Regions from separate parts of the Homo sapiens genome. Here region 1 is linked to region 2. The links are contacts of gene promoters, found by promoter capture Hi-C in blood cells and fetal thymus (Javierre and others, 2016). All regions are on one chromosome and are shown on one strand. The core of a region is centred on a gene start or on the middle of the fragment in contact, and the rest is flanking DNA. Distances in the headings are between cores, read along the strand shown.

What was found. Contacts are between HindIII fragments. The CHiCAGO score rates a contact against its expected background, and 5 or more counts as called.
Region 1: a fragment that was not itself captured here is called in contact with the fragment with the promoter of CLBA1 in region 2 in 1 of 17 cell types (monocytes); the score reaches 6.0 in monocytes.

The regions. Positions count from the first base shown.
Region 1 is chr14:105,535,737-105,540,401 of GRCh38, reverse strand. It overlaps the pseudogene ATP5MC1P1. Among named protein-coding and RNA genes, the nearest start is that of TMEM121, 11 kb to the right of the region's middle. The HindIII fragment of the contact is 2,155 bases long and covers 832-2,986 here.
Region 2 is chr14:104,982,837-104,987,187 of GRCh38, reverse strand. CLBA1 (clathrin binding box of aftiphilin containing 1) reads right to left here and starts at 1,400. Exons shown (of 5, transcript NM_174891.4): 1 at 334-1,400. The coding sequence starts at 756. RefSeq lists a silencer at 1,142-1,611. The HindIII fragment of the contact is 10,527 bases long and covers 1-4,062 here.

The sequences.
Region 1 (4,665 bases), core at 660-3,159, 550 kb before region 2:
AGAGCCTCACTCTTGTCGCCCAGGCTGGAGTGCAGTGGCGCGATCTCGGCTCACTGCAACCTCTGCCTCCTGGGTTCAAGTGATTCTCCTGCCTCAGACTCCCGAGTAGCTGGGACTACAGACGTATGTCACCACGCCTGGCTAATTTTTATATTTTTAGTAGAGATGGGGTTTCACCATGTTGGCCAGGCTGGTCTTGAACCCCTGACCTCAGGTGATCCGCCTGCCTCGGCCTCCCAAAGTGCTGGGATTACAGGCATGAGCCACCACCCCTGGCCCAGACTTGATTTTTTATTAACTTTCTTTGCTCCTGGCAGGACCAAAGGCCCTCATATTCTGTCTCTCAAAGTGGGCTCTGTGTGCATAAATGCATGGACATCATTTTACGTAGATTCTTTCTATATTATGTATCATAAAATTTTAACAGAAAAATGTATTATCAAATCACCTAAAAGCGCCAGGTGTGGTGGCTCACGCCTGTAATCCCAGCACTTTAGGAGGCCGAGGCGGGCGGATCACGAGGTCAGGAGATCGAGACCATCCTGGCTAACACGGTGAAACCCCATCTCTACTAAAAATACAAAAAATTAGCCGAGTGTGGTGGCATGTGCCTGTACTCCCGGCTACTCAGAAGGCTGAGGCAGGAGAATCGCTTGAACCCAGGAGGCGGAGGTTGCAATGAGCCAAGATCGCACCACTGCACTCCAGCCTGGCGAGAAAGCAAGACTCCGTCTCAAAAAAAAAAAACAAAAAAAAATCACTAAAAGCTGTGGAACAAGGAGGACACCTTAACTTATATGAAAATTGATCATCTGGGCCAGTTCTGAAGCTTGTCTCAATCCAGATTTGTCAGAAACTGGATCCAGTGAGCACCATCGCCTGCCCCAGACCCAATCAGCCAAGCATGGGGAGAGCAAAGAATTTCGAAGTTTAAAGTGTGCCATGAAGAACTGCTTTGTGTTGGATAAATAAGTTTAAATTATTTGAAATCTGGATTTTTATTTCTTTCTTTGTGTTTTGTGTGGGTTTTCTTGAGACAGGGTCTTGCTATGTTGTCCAGGCTGGAGTGCAGTGGCACCATCTCTGCTTGCTGTAGCCTTGACCTCCTGGGCTCAGGTGATCCTCCTGCCTCAGCCTCCTGAGTAGCTGGGACCACAGGCACGCGCAACCATGCCTGGCTAATTTTTAAAATTTTTTTAGAGACAAGGTCTCACTACATTGCCCAGGCTGGTCTCAAACTCCTGGGCTCAAGCAATCCTCCTCCCACCTCAGCCTCCCAAAGTGCTGGGATTGCAGGGGTGAGCCACAGCACCCAGCCCTCAGAAATCTTTTGTAATGCCCAGTGATGTTTGTAATGTGTTGATAACAGACACCAAGTCAGGGTCTCTCGTTCCTGAACACAAGTGGGACAGAGTCCCAGCCTTCTTGTGGCAGATGTCACCGTGAGGCTGGGCCCTGGACAACAGTGAGTGAGATAAGCCGGGGAGCTTCGACCGGGCCAGGCTGTCGGGGCCTCAGCCCGAGTGTGACCCAGGGCAAGCCAGGGTCAGTCTGCGATGAGCGTCAAGGTTCAGTGTGGACCTGCACTCAGGGCCTGGGACTGTGGGAGACACGTCCGTCGGGGACGAGGCCGAAACAAACAGCCCCAAGCGCTCAGTGGCTTCAGCAGCAAAGGGTTGTCTCCTGCTTGGGCTTTGGTGGGGAGGTGGGATCCACTCCAGAGCTCACTCAGGGCCCAGGCTGAGGCAGCCCCACCTTCCTTAGCCCACCCCGTGCAACCGCAGCCTCTCCGGACGCTGCAACAGGGAGATGCTGCTGGGCCATGGTCAGCCGGGAGGTGACACAAAGGTGGCGCAGGAGGTGATGCGGGAGGTGACACAGAGCTGATGCAGGTGATGCGGGAGGTGACACAGAGCTGATGCAGGTGATGCGGGAGGTGACACAGAGCTGATGCAGGTGATGTGGGAGGTGACACAGAGCTGATGCAGGGGATGTGGGAGGTGACACAGCTGATGCAGGTGATGTGGGAGGTGACACAGCTGATGCAGGAGGTGACATGGAGGTGACACACAGATGACACGGGAGGTGACGTGGGAGTTGATACGAACCCACTGGCCAGGCCCTCGCTGCCGGGGCAGGCAGAGGCAAGGGAGCAGATGAGTGTTCAGTGAGCAGAATCGGGCTCGGGTTCTGGTCAGGGGCATCAGCACAGCCTGGGGCTGGGGCAGCCTCAGCCTTTGGCCGCGCAGGGTCCTGTGGGGTCGGGGGGTCGGGGCACCACTGGCAGGTCCCGGTCTCACAGCCGGGTCCCGCGGCTCCCTCCTCAAAGGGACCCAGAGCCGGGCTCGGGAGCCCCCTTGTGGCCATCTGGCGACACTGCAGGCTCCGCCGGCGCGAAGGTCCAGAGGCTCCCGCATGCCCCAGCCAGGTAGGGTTCTCAGGCAGGTGAGCTTTGTGGGCAGCCTCACCTGCCAGGAATATGTGTGCCCCCTGCCTGCAGGCCAGCCTTGGCCACGGTCCAGTCCCAACATAATATCACTTGGTGAGGCCTACCCTGACCCAAGGCCTGCCTGAGTGGGGTCTCTCTGTGTGGCCCTGCCCCAACCTCCCTGCATCACACTCCACCCCACGCACCTGTGTGATACCTGTCTCCCTCCAGGCGTGGAGCCTCTCCTCCTAGGAGGCATCCCAGAGACACCCCGGGGGGCCGGGGTCACTCAGGTGCACCCCACAGGTGCAGGTTGCAGGTGGGAGAGCAGCACACAGCTGCTGTGTGGCTCCTGCAGTGGGCCCTGCCTCCCATGCTGTGGATTTGGCATCCGGTACACAGGCCCACTGCGCCTCACCATCCCCTCCAGGCCCACCAGCCGTTTCTGTGCAACTTCCCGCAGCAGCCTTGAAAGTGTTCACTGTGGGAACGCAACACGGACCAGCTCTCGAGGAAAGCACCCCCTGGGGCGGATACTCATGAGGGCGGGAGAAAGCTTTCCTCAAGGCTCACGCACTTTGAAACATGTTTCCGATGATCTCCACATTCAGCTTATTTCATAAGCAATGAGTAAAAGTGAGTCGGTCACCTTAGGTCACCTTCAGCCGGGCGAGTGCTGTGGGCCCGCAGGTGCTGCAGGGCAGTGGGAGTGCAGACAGAAAATGCAGACCCCCGGGCATTACTCACCTCTCCAGCTCTGGTCCGCTGTTGTACCACGGGTCTAATCAGGCTGTGTCTGTCTCCTTCTTGAACAGCCCAGAAAATTCATCTGAACAGCCTTCCTACAGCCGCTCCCCACACCAGGTGGCCAGGTGGGAGTTCCAGACCAGAGCTGTCTCCCGGGATGTTGACACAGCAGCCACGTTGATTGGTGTTGGGGCAGCCCCTGTCGGTGTGGCTGGCTTCGGGCCTGGCATTGGAACGGTGTCTGGCAGCTTGTTGGCTATGCCGGGAATCTGTTTCTCAAGCAGCAGCTCATCTCCGATGCCATTCTGGGCTTTGCTGTGTCTGAGGCCATGGGGCTGTTCTGTTTGGTGGTCGTCTTCCTCATCCTCGCCACGTGAGGCTCCACAGGGGTCACCTGCCTGTCCCTGCTGCCCGTCCCTACTCCACGCCATTCCTGGTGATGGGGTATGCTAATTTTTACCATTAAACACACGTTTCTCTCAAAAAAAAATTCTCCCCCACATAAATTTTACTACGAAAACCTGAACCACGGGCCGGTGCTCATCCATATCAAATTTCGCCAGTCGATGGCTTCCGTCGTCGTGAGTTTTCCTTCTCGGCCATTATGACCATCAAGGGCGACTCTGTTTTGTAAAATGTTGCAGCATTGCACTTTGTCCAGAGGATTTGCCAGCAGCAGGTGTGAGTGAGGAGGTGGTCCCTGGGCTCTCTCACTGCTGGGCAGGATGCAGGTTTGGGCAACGCTTGGGAGGAAAACACTGAAAAGTCCAGTAAAGTTACCAAGGTGCAGCAACACAGGAGGGCTCCCCTTCTTCCTCACCTGGGCATGCGGCACCCAAAGGCAGGTCCCTATTCCTGGCTCCCTGGCAGCTCAGGGCACTGGCATGTCTAAGTTCTGGGCAGCAGAGTGTGGGCAGGTGCCTCATGCCAGCTCCTGAGCCCCATCCCAAAGAGACCCCAAAAGCATGCCTCGTCAACCTCCTCCACCCTGGCTGTGCTGCCGCCGAGCCCTGATGGTGCAGCCTGACCTGTGAGAGCAAGATCCACACCCAGGACCCAGGGGCCACGAGTAGGAGGGATCTGTGTCCTGGCAGCCTGGACCACTGCCCAGACTCACCCAGGAGGGAAATGAATGTGTACGTTGACAAACACCACCATCATCCGAGCCTGGGCTATGGCTTGAGTGTCCCCTCCAAAATTCATATGGAAATGTAATTGCCACTATGGCAATATTAAGAGGTGGGGAGCTGGGCGCGGTGGCTCACACCTGTAATCCCAGCACTTTGGGAGGCCAAGGCGGGCAGATCACTTGAGGTCAGGAGCTCAGGACCAGCCTGGCCAACATGGCAAAACCCTGTCTCTACTAAAAAAAATACAAAAAATTAGCCAGGTGATGGCAGGCGCCTGTAATCCCAGCTACTTGGGAGGCTGAGGCAGGAGAATTGCTTGAACCCGGGAGGCAGAGATTGCAGTGAGTCAAGATCGCGCCA
Region 2 (4,351 bases), core at 151-2,650:
TCAAATGCCCTGAGCTGGGGCCAGTGCAGCCCCCACCAATGGGGAATGGACAGGCTGGGGGAGGAATGGTCAGAAAGAGCGACCCAGCTCAGGTGGCCCCCACCTGGCCTTCGTGTGACCCATTTCTGCAGCCTCCTCTGCCAACTCATTGCTTCCCTGGCCTCAGGATGGGACTGCCAACCACATGGCCAGGGACGAAGGCCAGGAGAGAAGCAGACGCTCTGGGGCTGTCAGCCCCCTCCCTGGCCAGCACGCCACAGCATTCGAGGGCTGTAGGCCTCTTGGTGTGTACACGTCCCACTCAACATGGTGACCACAGCACAGCAGAAATACCTCAGAAGGTGGGACGGCAGAAGTTCCTGTCACCCAAGGTCCACCCTGGCATGGTTGGTGAGAACTGCACTCTTTTGGGGCAGAAGTGGTTCTCGGTGGCTGGGGTTCTGTGGGTCCCTCGAGGAGTTCAAGGGACTGTGAGAATTGTCCAGACTTGGCTGAAGATTCCCGAAAGCCTTCAAACTCCCCCCAAGTGCTGCTGTGTTCCCCAGGGTCAGGACATCGGGCAGTGCAGGTGGAACCGCCCTCACGGGGCATGGAGATGCTGGCTTTCCCATCGGACAGGAGAAGGTCGGGGCAGGTCCGTCTCCATTCCAAACTGTCATCACTCAGCCTCTCAGGTGCCACTCGGAGGGAAGCGCTGGCTGCTTCCTCCTGGAGGTCACTCAAAGGCTCTCCCCCCAGCTCCCGCCGGCCTTGCATCTTGGAGCCCCCAGGCCAGCAGAGGCCCGATGGGCAGCTGCTCAGGAGACATGCACGCCGGGGTGCTGGCCGCCCAGGACTGCCCAACCTTCCCCTGCCCTGGAGAGGGCCAGGGGACGCTGCAGGAGTGCCCCGGGCTGCCCAGTGGCTGACGGTGGAAAGTGCCCACGTGCTGCTGTGGAACTGACACAAACCACAGGAATGGCCCGGTCGCCCGGGAGTCCTGGCTTCCTCCCACGCAGGCGGGCGCGGAGTCCGACACAGAGGCGCGTACCAGACCCACGGCAGGTGTGAGAGGGGCGGCCCAAGGTGGGGCTCCTGCTCTGGAGAGAGCCGCGAGGGGGCCTGGGAGGCCCACGCTGGCCAGAGGAGCGAGAGCCGGGCGCCCGCGGGAGTCCCAAGTGGGAAGGAGTGGGTGCGGCGCCCCGGGGCCTCCCGAGAGTCCCTCTCGCACGCGGCCCGCAGAGCAGCCCTGGAACGCCTGGGCCTGGACAGGGCCCGAGGTGGCCGGCTAAGCGCCTGGCCCACGGCTCCCGAGAGTCCCCGCACCCACCTTGGTCGCCGCCTCGGCGGGGCCGCGCGGGACCAGGGCGAGAGAAACCTGCAACCAGCCGTTCCCTCCTGCCTGCGCCGCCCCGTTGCCTGGCAACGGCGTGCGCCAGCTCCGCTTCCGGCGTCCGTCGCCGTGGCGTCAGCACGCATCCGGGGCGAGGCCAGCGCCGGCCCCCGCCGTTCAGGACCCGCCCCGGACCCGCCCTCCCTGCCCCGGGCCGCCTCCGCTGCGGGTGGGATCGGGCTTCCACACTGGCCGAGCCCTGGGCGCCGGGCCGCTCGAGCTTTCTGTCCGTGCTCAGTTCGCCGCCCGAGTGGTTCTTTCTTTTTTTTTTTTTTCTTTTTTTTTTGAGACGGAGTCTCGCTCTGTCGCCCAGGCTGGAGAGCAGTGGCGCGATCTCGACTCACTGCAAGCTCCGCCTCCCGGGTTCACGCCATTCTCCTGCCTCAGCCTCCCGAGTAGCTGGGACTACAGGCGCCCGCCACCACGCCCGGCTGATTTTTTTGTATTTTAATAGAGACTGGGTTTCACCGTGTTAGCCAGGATGGTCTCGATTTCCTGACCTCGTGATCCGCCCGCCTCGGCCTCCCAAAGTGCTGGGATTACAGGCTTGAGCCACTGGGCCTGGCCCTAGAGTGGTTCTTTCTTCCTCACGACGAGCTCCCCAGGTCCGTCCCAGCGCACCCGTCACCCGCAGCCCCTTCTCCCGGCGCCCCGCAGCCTAACTTGCCGCGCCGCCGACCCCTCTGTGGGTGCAGCTGAGCGACGGCCCCTCAGGACCCCACCTGTCCCTGGCGAGAGCCAAGTCCGTCTTGCTGACTCCTGAATCCCAAAACCTCGCCCGCCCCTAACTCGTCCCCATTCCTGGGGGAAGGAGCTGCGGGGAGGCTCCACCCCTCCCTCGCAGGCCGCATGGAGTGCTCCCCTCCTTTGTCACCAGCCAGACCCGGGCAGAGCAGGGCTGACGGACAGCCCCTCTCCAGCCACTGGACGACCAAGGAGCTAGGCTGGCCTCTGGCAGCTCCCCTCCGGGCTTCCAGGCCTTCTGCCATCTGCCCTCACCCCCAGACTCAAGGAGTCAACCTTGACTCCATCTCCTCCCTGGCCTTCCCAGACTGGCCCCCATCACTGCCTCCTCTGGGTAAGGGGAGGGCCTGGCCCTGGTGAAGCCCTGAACCATGCCACCTACTGTCCACCCCCTATCTACCTCAGGCTCGCATTTCTCCCACCCTGGGGCCTGGGGCCCTGCCTGGACTCTGTCCTTGCTTGAATCACCCCTTCCCTCCCTGGTCCTTCTCAGCCAAGCTACAGAACAATTTAATTTTACAAATGACAAGATGAGATCATTCTCTGCACCTTAGACCCAGCCTCCTGTCCCCGCTCCTTCCTGAGGGGCAGAGCAGCCGGGCCATGCAGTATGGAAGCTCTTCGGTCAGACTGCCCAGGACTGGATCTTGGCTTGGCCACCCCAGCACCGCAGTGACCCTAAGGATGGTGATCAGGAGCTGGCTGGGTTTGTAGACCAGGCCTGGGCCTGTCTTGCCAGCTTAAGGGCAGTGTCCGTTCCCACTGCTGCCCCTCATCCACTGCACGTCCTTGCCGTCCTTGAGGCCCAGGGAGCTGGGAGGGGGGCAGGAGGAGTGTTGTCCTTGTGTACAGGTGGGGAAACTGAGGCCCCACCCCAAAGGCCTGCGTGAGAAGCAGAGCTGGGACAGGAGCTGCTCTCCTCGTTCTCTGCAATTCCCCACCCCCGTCTGGGCCTCAGCTTCCACGTGAAGAGCGTGGGGAGCACAGTACTCCCAGGGTGGTTGGAGGATAGAAATGACCCATATGGGTTGAAGAGCTGGTGTGGCAGTTGAACAGCCCCACAGAGATGTCCACATCCTAACCCCTGGAACCTGTGGCTATGTGACCTTACAGGGTCAAAGACACTTTATAGATGGGCTTAAATTAAGGCTCTTGAGAGGAGGAGTGGAGCCTGGATGAGGCATGTAATCACAAAGGTCCTGAGAAGGAAGCAGGAAGGTCAGAGTCAGAGAGGAGACGCAAAGATGGAAGCAGAGCCGGAGTGATACGAGACTGCAGATGCCTCTGGAGGCTGAAGGGACCAGAAAACAGATCTCCCCTGAAGCCTCCAGAAGGCACACCATCCTGCCCACACCTAGAACTGGAGTTGATAAATGCGCACATGCTGTTTTCAACCACTGTGTCGGGGGTATTTTGTTATGGCAGCAGCAGGGAACTAATATGCCTGAGTGACCCCTTGTGACCCACTGAGAAGTGCTGCGTCGGGGAAGCCAAGGTGCAGAGGAAATGGCAGCGGCAACCTTGACATCAGGTGCCCAACCCTGGTTGCAGGAGGAGGTGGGGGCAGCCCAGGTGGCTGCTAGGCCGCTGCTGGCTTCTTGGGCCAGCTTCTGGGCAGACCATCCTGCTTCATGGCACAGCCTGAAAGGCACGAGCTGAGGATAAGGCTTCCAGGTTGGCGATTGGAGCAGGCACTGCTCAAATTGAACTGGCCCAGCTGCTAGGGGAGACTGGGCCGGAGAGGGTGGGTTCCCATTAAAGCCTGGGTGTGGGGGACATTAGCCATGACTCCCGAGGGGCATGGAGGGGGCAGGTGGAGTGTGGTCGGGACGAGGAGCCCATGTGGCCCTCCCAGGACCTCTCCAGCCACCTCGGTCCACCCTGAGCCCCAGCCCTGCTCAATGGCTGTGTGGGGAGCACCTTCCCTTCTGCAGAGGAGCCAAGCTTCCCTACCCTAGTCTCAGGAGGAAGGGGCCAGCCTGGGTTCTGGGGCAAGTGCCACCTATGCACAGAGCCCCACAGTCATCTTGGGATCTCCCAGCATCACCTGATGAGCAAGGACTGGCTGGGGAGGGGTCCCCAGAAGCACCCAGGCATCCTGGTCCTCTGGGATCCTCAGCCCCAAGTCCCTAGGGCAAGTTGGGGCGTGTGCCTGTCCTCACCTCTGGCAGCAGGAGTGCCAGGGCTTGCAGGCGGCAGCATGGGAACCTGCTGCTGCTCGGATCCCAGGCTAGC